Regions from separate parts of the Homo sapiens genome. Here all the other regions are linked to region 2. The links are contacts of gene promoters, found by promoter capture Hi-C in human tissues and cell types (Jung and others, 2019). All regions are on one chromosome and are shown on one strand. The core of a region is centred on a gene start or on the middle of the fragment in contact, and the rest is flanking DNA. Distances in the headings are between cores, read along the strand shown.

Region 1 (2,808 bases), core at 38-2,537, 230 kb before region 2:
GCTATTATGGGCTAGAAATATGCCTTCTTAGAATCAGTGCCTTCACCCGGACAAGATGGTGGGGGTTCAAGCTAGAATGGGAGCAATGAGAAAGATGGAAAAGAGTGGACAGATCTGAAAACTACTCAAAGGATAAAATCAACAGGACTTGACAGATTGCTTATGGAGGTGTATGAAGAAGAGTTTAGAATTACTTGAGTGTCTAGCTTGCAGAACTGAATGGTTATCAGATTCCATTCTTATAGAAGTCCAAAGGCTCCTAACCCGGCCTAAAACGCTCTGCATGACCCGACCACTGCCTACCCATCTCACCAGTCTCATCTGTACCCACTCTCTTCCCCTCCACATCTGAGCCCCAGGAACGATGCCCTTCTTTCCAGTTCCTTCCTACCACAGGGTCTTCCCACATGAGCTCTCCTCTGACTGAACAGCCCCTCCCATATTTTTTCCCTACCCAACCCCTATTCATCCTTAGGGTCTCAGCTTAAACGCCGGTTTCTTTGGAAAAATCTCTGCCAGTCTTCAGATAAGGTTAGAGACCCCTGATATTCAATTCTCATCTTGTTTCGCAGCATTTTGTGTATCGCCACCACGTCTGTAACCGGAGCGCCTAGTACAGTATCTGACCCTCAATAAGAGCTCGGTAAATGTTTATTGTTGAATGCGTCATTCAGTCAGTCGAAACAATCCCCGAAACAGATATTGCCAGAGGAAAAAGAGACTTTTAGATTATACAACTAGTGAGTGACCGGGCCTGGAACCTAATCGATTCCTGTGTGCCGACCAATAGCCTAACAACAGAAAAATAAGGCCCATTTTTCCCCTGGAGAAACTCATGGCCGATAAAGGAGAAATACGTGCATCCCGTCCGGACTGATACCTGGATCCCCTTTCTGCCCGCAGCTCTCCTTCCTTCAACCTCCCTATCGCACTTGCACTGCACCGTAATCCCGGCGCACAGGTGCCGCGCCATCCTCCCCACAGGGCCGCGGGCACGCGGGCCACGGACTCACCTGGGCCCCGCCCACCGACCCATGCAGCCGCAATAGGCACATGAGCCCGGGCAAATGTGGGGCCGAGCGGTTTGGGGGATGCACCGGAGCAACGGCAGACCCCGTTCGAGGTTGCAGCAAACCAGAAACACTCTCCAGCAGCAGCAGGCGGAGCCGCGGGCCCGAGCTCACTGCCGAGAGACCCCCGGTCCCGCCAGGAACCCCAGCCGCGGAGCCCGCAGAGGGCCCACTCAGAACGGCTGCCGCCATCTTCCCCCGGGTTCCAGTGGTGGCGTGGCGCGATGACGCAAACACACCGCGACGGCCGCCTACTGGGGAGGGGGCGTGGGGAGGGGGCTGCGGTCTTGCGCACTGAGTGAAGGCAGGCTGGACTCGCGGGCTCAAGCTGGGAAGGAGCATGCGCGGAGAGAGCAGCCTGGGCGCCGAGGCAGCGGGGTGCTCGGTTCCCGGAGTGATGGCGGATGAGGCTGCCTGTGAGCGTGTCCGAGGCGGTCCTGTGATGTTAAAGGTACACGTGGTCCGGACAAAAGGCGCCAAAGTCGGAACGATTTCCATTTAGCGGACGGAGTCTTGGGACATCTTCGCTGTAGGAATCAATAACTCTCATTTTTTTTTTTTGAGACGGAGTCTCGCTCTGTGGCCCAGGCTGGAGTGCAGTGGCGCGATCTCGGCTCACCGCAACCTCCACCTTCCAGGTTCAAGCGATTTCCCTGCCTCAGCCTCCCGAGTAGATGGGATTACAGTCGCGCGCCACCACGCCCGGCTAATTTTTTTTGTATTTTTGTAGAGATGGGGTTTCACCATGTTGGCCAGGATGGTCTTGAACTCCTGACCTCAGGTGTTCCGCCCGCCTTGGCCTCCCAAAGTGCTGAGATTACAGGCATGAGCCACCGCACCCTGCCTAGGAATCAGTAACGTGTGTGTGTGTGTACGCGCGCCAAAGATTTATTTCTTCATTTCTTGCATTTCAAGTACTCTTCGATGTCATCCTTGGCCTGAGACTCCTTGCCATAGTCCTTAACTACTACACAACTGCAACCAACCACTTTACGGGGTTTCCCCTCTCTGTCGATTTTTACAGAGCCCTACCCATTCTCCTAGTTTCTTGTTGTCATCAACCTTAATTAGGTTGATTTGGTGTTCAGCACAAAGGCCTCCACCAACTTGACATACATAGTAGGCTCATCATAGTTGGATGCAAGCACACAAAGATGGGCTTGGCGTTTGTCTAAGGCTTTGGCAGCTTCGCGAATTCCACGTGCTAGGTCATGGTGGATGAGAGCGGTCTTCAGCACCTCTTGTGAAGCAGTATTAACATCCATTACCCCTCCAGCAGCAATGCCTTCCTCGGCCGTGGCGGTGGGTTACAAGTGAAGCTGAATCTTGAAGGTACCCAAGCCTCCGCCTCCGCGCAACTCGGCAGCGGCAGGGAAAGAGAAGGAATCAATAACTCTCTAGGTAACTTGAAATCACAGACATTTTTAACTACATTTGCAACTTCAGAAATGATACAAGACGTGCGCCTTGCAAAAGCCAATTCAAACAGTACAGAAAGGCATAAAGTAAAAAGAAAAACTGCTCCTCCCCCGCAAAGCCCTGCCCCAGTAGCGTGTATACTTTCCTAATATTAGTCTATGCACAAGCACATAAATGAATATTTTACAAGATTGGGGTCTGCGTGTGGCTTGTTTTCACTCATGGCCTTCTTTATGCTGTTTTTTAAACTGTGGTATGAATGAAATGGGTGCACCATGATTTAATAATTCTATTGCTGAATTAATGCTTAAAGGCTGCT
Region 2 (2,959 bases), core at 138-2,637:
AGATGACTATTAGGGATTTTGTTTGTGTTGACTGAATGGTTAGGTAAATGAGTGGATGATGGTGCCACTCACCAGGCTGAGCAACACAGGAGGAGAAGCCATTTGGAGAGAGATGGTGAGTTCAGCTTTGAACATATTGTTTTGGTGTCTGTGGGACATCCAAGTAGAGATGTCCAGAAGGCAGCTGGACATATGTGCTTGTGTCTCAGGAGAAGGGTCTGGACTAGAGACATAGATTTGAGAGTCATTAGGTTGTAGGTGGTGGTTGAAGGCAAGGGAATGGATGAGGATAATCTCAGGTGGTTGCATAGCGTAAGAAAAGAAGAGAATGCCGGGCGCGGTGGCTCATGCCTCTAATCCCAGCACTTCGGGAAGCCAATGTGGGTGGATCACTTGAGATGAGGAGTTCGAGACCAGGCTGACCAACATGGTGAAACCCCGTCTCTACTAAAAATATAAAAATTAGCTGGGAATGAAGACAGCCTAAGCACAAACTCTGGGGGCAGTTTAATTGTTCAAGAAGGGGAATCTATGAAGGAGACTGAGAAGGCCCAACCAAACAGGTAAGAAGAAAACCAAGAAAATTACAGGGTCATGTGTCACAGAGGCCAAAAGGAGAATCCCAAGGGGCGAGTGGCCATGGGTATGCAGGCTGCCGAAATAAAGTAAGATCACAGTGGAGAAGTTTCCCATGGATGTAGAGGAGGGAGAGCATTAAAGACCTTGGTAAGAACCGAGTCAATGGAGTAGCAGGGGAAAGAAATCAGCATAGACTGGGGTGAGAAGGCAGAGAGAAAGGTGGGAGAGAATTAAAAGTAGGCAACTCTCAGAATGCAGCTGTGAAGAGGAAGAGAAGCGGGCATCTGGAGAGGTTTTTTTGTTTTTAAGATGGAGTTTTGCTCTTGTCACCCAGGCTGGAGTACAATGGCACGATCTCGGCTCACCGCAACCTCTTTCCACCTCCCGGTTTCAAGCGATTCTCCTGCCTCAGCCTCCCGAGTAGCTGGGATTACAGGCATGCGCCACCACGCCTGGCTAATGTATTTTTAGTAGAGACAGGGTTTCCCCGTGTTGGTCAGGCTGGTCTCGAACTCCTGACTTCAGGTGATCCGCCCGCCTCAGCCTCCCAAAGTTCTGGGATTACAGGCATGAGCCACGCGCCCGGCCCTGGAGAGGTTTTTAAAAGATGGCAGAAGGCTGTTTGGAGGAGTCCACCCCCATCTCCCCTGTGTAAAAGGAAAGCGGAAGAGAGAACCACAAAGAGGGCCTGGGGGAAAGCCGTGGAGTGAGGCGATAAGGGCTTGTGTCCAGGGGATTCCCGGTCACTGGAATCCCTATCAGGCCTGCATTTCCTCCTCACCCCCATCCCCTTCCTTGCCACTGGCTTAGTCCTCCATGGGGCTAGAAGAGAGAAGGACGGAGTCGAGTGGCACCCTAGAAGACGCTCTGTGCCTTCGGAGGTCTTTCTGCCTGCCTGTAAGCCGGGGTTGGTGCTGGGGCAGGAGAGGGGTCTGAGGGAGGGGAAAGAGCCAAGGACCTGGAGCTAGTAGTTTTAAGTTCTGCAGGCAAGGGTGGGAGATGGGAGTAGGGAGGACAGGAGGTGTGGATGCTGTTTCTGGAAGCGAAGCTGCAGGGGGAAGGGGGCTGGGGCCTGGGGGGATGCTTCCAGGGGATGCAGGGGGATCCACTCAAGGCTCCCTTGCCCACAGGTCCTCATGCCTCTCCTCCTCTTGCTGCTCCTGCTGCCAAGCCCCTTACACCCCCACCCCATCTGTGAGGTCTCCAAAGTGGCCAGCCACCTAGAAGTGAACTGTGACAAGAGGAATCTGACAGCGCTGCCTCCAGACCTGCCGAAAGACACAACCATCCTCCACCTGAGTGAGAACCTCCTGTACACCTTCTCCCTGGCAACCCTGATGCCTTACACTCGCCTCACTCAGCTGAACCTAGATAGGTGCGAGCTCACCAAGCTCCAGGTCGATGGGACGCTGCCAGTGCTGGGGACCCTGGATCTATCCCACAATCAGCTGCAAAGCCTGCCCTTGCTAGGGCAGACACTGCCTGCTCTCACCGTCCTGGACGTCTCCTTCAACCGGCTGACCTCGCTGCCTCTTGGTGCCCTGCGTGGTCTTGGCGAACTCCAAGAGCTCTACCTGAAAGGCAATGAGCTGAAGACCCTGCCCCCAGGGCTCCTGACGCCCACACCCAAGCTGGAGAAGCTCAGTCTGGCTAACAACAACTTGACTGAGCTCCCCGCTGGGCTCCTGAATGGGCTGGAGAATCTCGACACCCTTCTCCTCCAAGAGAACTCGCTGTATACAATACCAAAGGGCTTTTTTGGGTCCCACCTCCTGCCTTTTGCTTTTCTCCACGGGAACCCCTGGTTATGCAACTGTGAGATCCTCTATTTTCGTCGCTGGCTGCAGGACAATGCTGAAAATGTCTACGTATGGAAGCAAGGTGTGGACGTCAAGGCCATGACCTCTAACGTGGCCAGTGTGCAGTGTGACAATTCAGACAAGTTTCCCGTCTACAAATACCCAGGAAAGGGGTGCCCCACCCTTGGTGATGAAGGTGACACAGACCTATATGATTACTACCCAGAAGAGGACACTGAGGGCGATAAGGTGCGTGCCACAAGGACTGTGGTCAAGTTCCCCACCAAAGCCCATACAACCCCCTGGGGTCTATTCTACTCATGGTCCACTGCTTCTCTAGACAGCCAAATGCCCTCCTCCTTGCATCCAACACAAGAATCCACTAAGGAGCAGACCACATTCCCACCTAGATGGACCCCAAATTTCACACTTCACATGGAATCCATCACATTCTCCAAAACTCCAAAATCCACTACTGAACCAACCCCAAGCCCGACCACCTCAGAGCCCGTCCCGGAGCCCGCCCCAAACATGACCACCCTGGAGCCCACTCCAAGCCCGACCACCCCAGAGCCCACCTC
Region 3 (2,843 bases), core at 3-2,502, 190 kb after region 2:
TTTTCCTTGATTCCTTCGTGGGACTCAAGACAGGGGTGCCCTGTTTACTCAGCCCACTGTGCTCAACCTCTTGCAGGAGTGTGCAGGTGAGTGAGCAAGTGCAGGATCTGGCTGGCCACTACAGGCACCAGCATGAGCAAGCTCTTTGCGGAGCCTGTGACCAGACCAGGCATGAGCAAACGACTGCAGGATCTAGCTGGCTGCTCTGGGCAGCTGCAGGAGCAAGCTCCATTTGGGGTCTGCGGTGCTGCCCAAGTGGGGGTGCCTGTGATCCCAAATCCCCAGAGGGAGTGTTACAGTGCTCTCTTAGCGCCACTGTTTGAGGATGGGTATGTGTTAACAGCTCAGCTGGCCCCTAGCCCCATTGCGTGGGGTGGCTACCTGCCACTGGTGAGGGCAAAGGGTGAGTGTGACAGCCTTTTGGGTAGCCAAACTTGGTGGGTCCCAAGCTCTTGTCTGGCATCCAAAAAGAATGAGGTTGTGTGGAGCACTTGAAGGATGGTGAAGGTGGAGAATTTTACAGAGTGATCACAGTGGCTCTCAGCGGAGAGGGGAGCTAGAGAGGGGGTAGAAAGGGCAGGTCATCTTCTCCCCAAAGTCTGGCCATTTCTTCCCGAAAGTCTGGCCATCTCTCTCATCTACTGACTGAGTCTGGGGTCTTTATAGGCACAGGATGAGGGTGGGGCAGCCATAGGTATTTTTGGAAAAGGCAACATTTGATTGGTAAGAAGACATTATTCAGAAAGAACCAATCGGGAGGGAGTAAGCAAACAGGAATAGAAGTTCTCACTTTGGGCTGTGGGTTTCAGGCTTTTCGGCTCAAAGATGGGGTTTCACTGGGGGCCTGCCACATCTGCTTAGAATTTCTCAACTTCATGTCCTGCCTCTATCACTATCAAGTATTTATATGAAGAAACCTCTCCTAAGCCACACTCCAATCACCCCTCTTCCTCAAAGAGATTATCAGACTCTGACTTTTTCTCAGTTTTGGTCCTCTTGGAGTTTGGTTCTTTAGCTGTTTAAAATCTTATGAAGGCAAACTTTGATCATTTAGGCTCTTTTCTCAAAGTTCCAAAGTAGACTGCTCCCTAACAGGTAGGTTTTATTTTGTGGAATTCAGGTTTACAAATTGGACATTACTACATTAGCTTCTGCTACCTATAAAAGCTTTGAATAGGTGGGCTTTTATTTCATGAATTACCTGATTATCTGAAAATTAACTCTTTTGTCCTTCTTCAGCCCCCACTAAAGTGAGGTCAGCTCAGGGAATGCAGCAGAAATTCACCTGGAAGCAAGCGAGGCTGGGGCCCAGAAACCCCCTGGGCTGGGCCATGCTTCCAGTCCAGTTCCCATCTTTTATGGATGCCTAGCCCTGACCCTCAGAGGACCCTGGGTGAGGCCTGGAGGAGCCCCTCTTCCCAAATAGACTTCATTTGTCCCTTGAGGCTCAGCTCACTGCAGTTAACTAACTAATGAGTAACTCAGTGTAAGAACACACAATGCTAATTATTATAATTAATTATAATAGTGATAGTCATTAAAACAAGGAACTTCTGCCCAGCACTACAAGTGACTCACAGCCATCATCTCAGCTGATAAACAGCTGGGAGAAAGATACTCTTTCTTCCTTTTGACCCGTGAAGAAACTGAAGCTCAGAGAGGTTAAGGGATTTATCTACGGCTGCACAGGGACCCCTCCTTCAGGTCTGTCGGACTTGTATCCACCCCACCTCTCTGCCCCCTCTCCTGCCTCTCCTTTCCAGAAGGTTCTAGGTCCCAGGAACTCCAAGGCTCAACCCAAGGATAGAGATCCAAGGTCCTGCCGGGGCAGTCAGGAGGCCTTACGTGCCCTCTCCTGTGGCTTCCTTCTCAGCCGAGTTCTGTGCTGCTCTAAGCTGGGGAAGCCTACTCCCCAAGAAGCAGGACACCCGGAAGGTGTTTCCCCCTGGCTTTGAGGCTGGTTATACATTGCTTTCCTCCAGCAGATTAACATTTGCTAATGGGGCCTGGCACGGTGACACCAACGTAGGGTTGCTCTCTGCATGCCTGTGCTGTGGGGTTGGTGGTGGGGGCAAGGCAGTGGTGGGGGCAAGGTCAGGGCAGTGAGTGAGGTCGCCTGTGGTCATCCTCCACTGTGCTGGGGGGTTGTTATCTCTCAGGGCTTAGCACTTGTTGGGGATGGGTGAAGTCCAGTCCCGAGTCACAGTGTGTGTTGTGGGAGGTTGCTGATATTCATAGCCCTGTATGTTTGAGTAATGACAATATCCACCTCCACCTTCAGGGTGAGGAGCTGTTGGCCTATCTGTGTCTGTCTGTCTGTCTGTCTGTCATCTGCACCTGTCTCTCCGAGGGAAAGAAGGCAGGCCCCAGGGTCTTTCCCCAGGATGGCCTTGGGTGAGCTCCTGCTGTCCTCTCTGCCCAGGAAATGAAGGCCCTTTGAGGTCAGGTGGATGAGGATGTCAGTGTGAAGATGGACACTGTGCCTGGAGTGAACCTGAGCTGGATCCTGAATGAGATGCATGACCAGGACAAGAAATTGGTGGAGAAGAGCTACAAGGATGCCAAGGGCTGTTTCTTCAGCATGGTGGGTGGCCATATGTAAGCAGGTGTGCACACATGTGGGCACATGTGCTGCATGCTGGTGCAGCTGGAACGCTGGCAGATCCACAGGCTGTCCCAGTTGGAAGGACTTTGGAAACCAGTTGGACCAGCCCCTCATGATTTCGATGTAAAATGTGAGGCTCAGAGAGGACTCAAGCTCACACAGCCCTTCACTGTGGCCTGCAAAATAGATCCAGGTCTCTACAAGTCTGGTCTTGGGTTTCCACCACAGCTGTTTACAG

What was found. Contacts are between HindIII fragments. The study calls those that stand out against the background at their distance.
Region 1: a contact is called between the fragment with the promoter of PELP1 here and the fragment with the promoter of GP1BA in region 2, in 2 of the 25 tissues and cell types used here (dorsolateral prefrontal cortex and spleen).
Region 3: a contact is called between a fragment that was not itself captured here and the fragment with the promoter of GP1BA in region 2, in 1 of the 25 tissues and cell types used here (dorsolateral prefrontal cortex).

The regions. Positions count from the first base shown.
Region 1 is chr17:4,702,850-4,705,657 of GRCh38, forward strand. It overlaps PELP1 (proline, glutamate and leucine rich protein 1), which reads right to left and starts at 1,288. Exons shown (of 17, transcript NM_014389.3): 1 at 1,014-1,288. The coding sequence starts at 1,262. It overlaps PELP1-DT (PELP1 divergent transcript), which reads left to right and starts at 1,381. Exons shown (of 2, transcript NR_103482.1): 1 at 1,381-1,521; 2 at 2,350-2,680. It also overlaps the pseudogene RPS12P29. The HindIII fragment of the contact is 43,472 bases long and covers 1-2,808 here.
Region 2 is chr17:4,930,890-4,933,848 of GRCh38, forward strand. GP1BA (glycoprotein Ib platelet subunit alpha) reads left to right here and starts at 1,388. Exons shown (of 2, transcript NM_000173.7): 1 at 1,388-1,476; 2 at 1,710-2,959. The coding sequence starts at 1,716. The HindIII fragment of the contact is 8,753 bases long and covers 1,369-2,959 here.
Region 3 is chr17:5,118,205-5,121,047 of GRCh38, forward strand. It overlaps USP6 (ubiquitin specific peptidase 6), which reads left to right. Exons shown (of 38, transcript NM_001304284.2): 2 at 1-86; 3 at 2,423-2,584. It also overlaps a transcript of ZNF232 not described here. Among named protein-coding and RNA genes, the nearest start is that of USP6, 3.6 kb to the left of the region's middle. The HindIII fragment of the contact is 5,478 bases long and covers 1-2,843 here.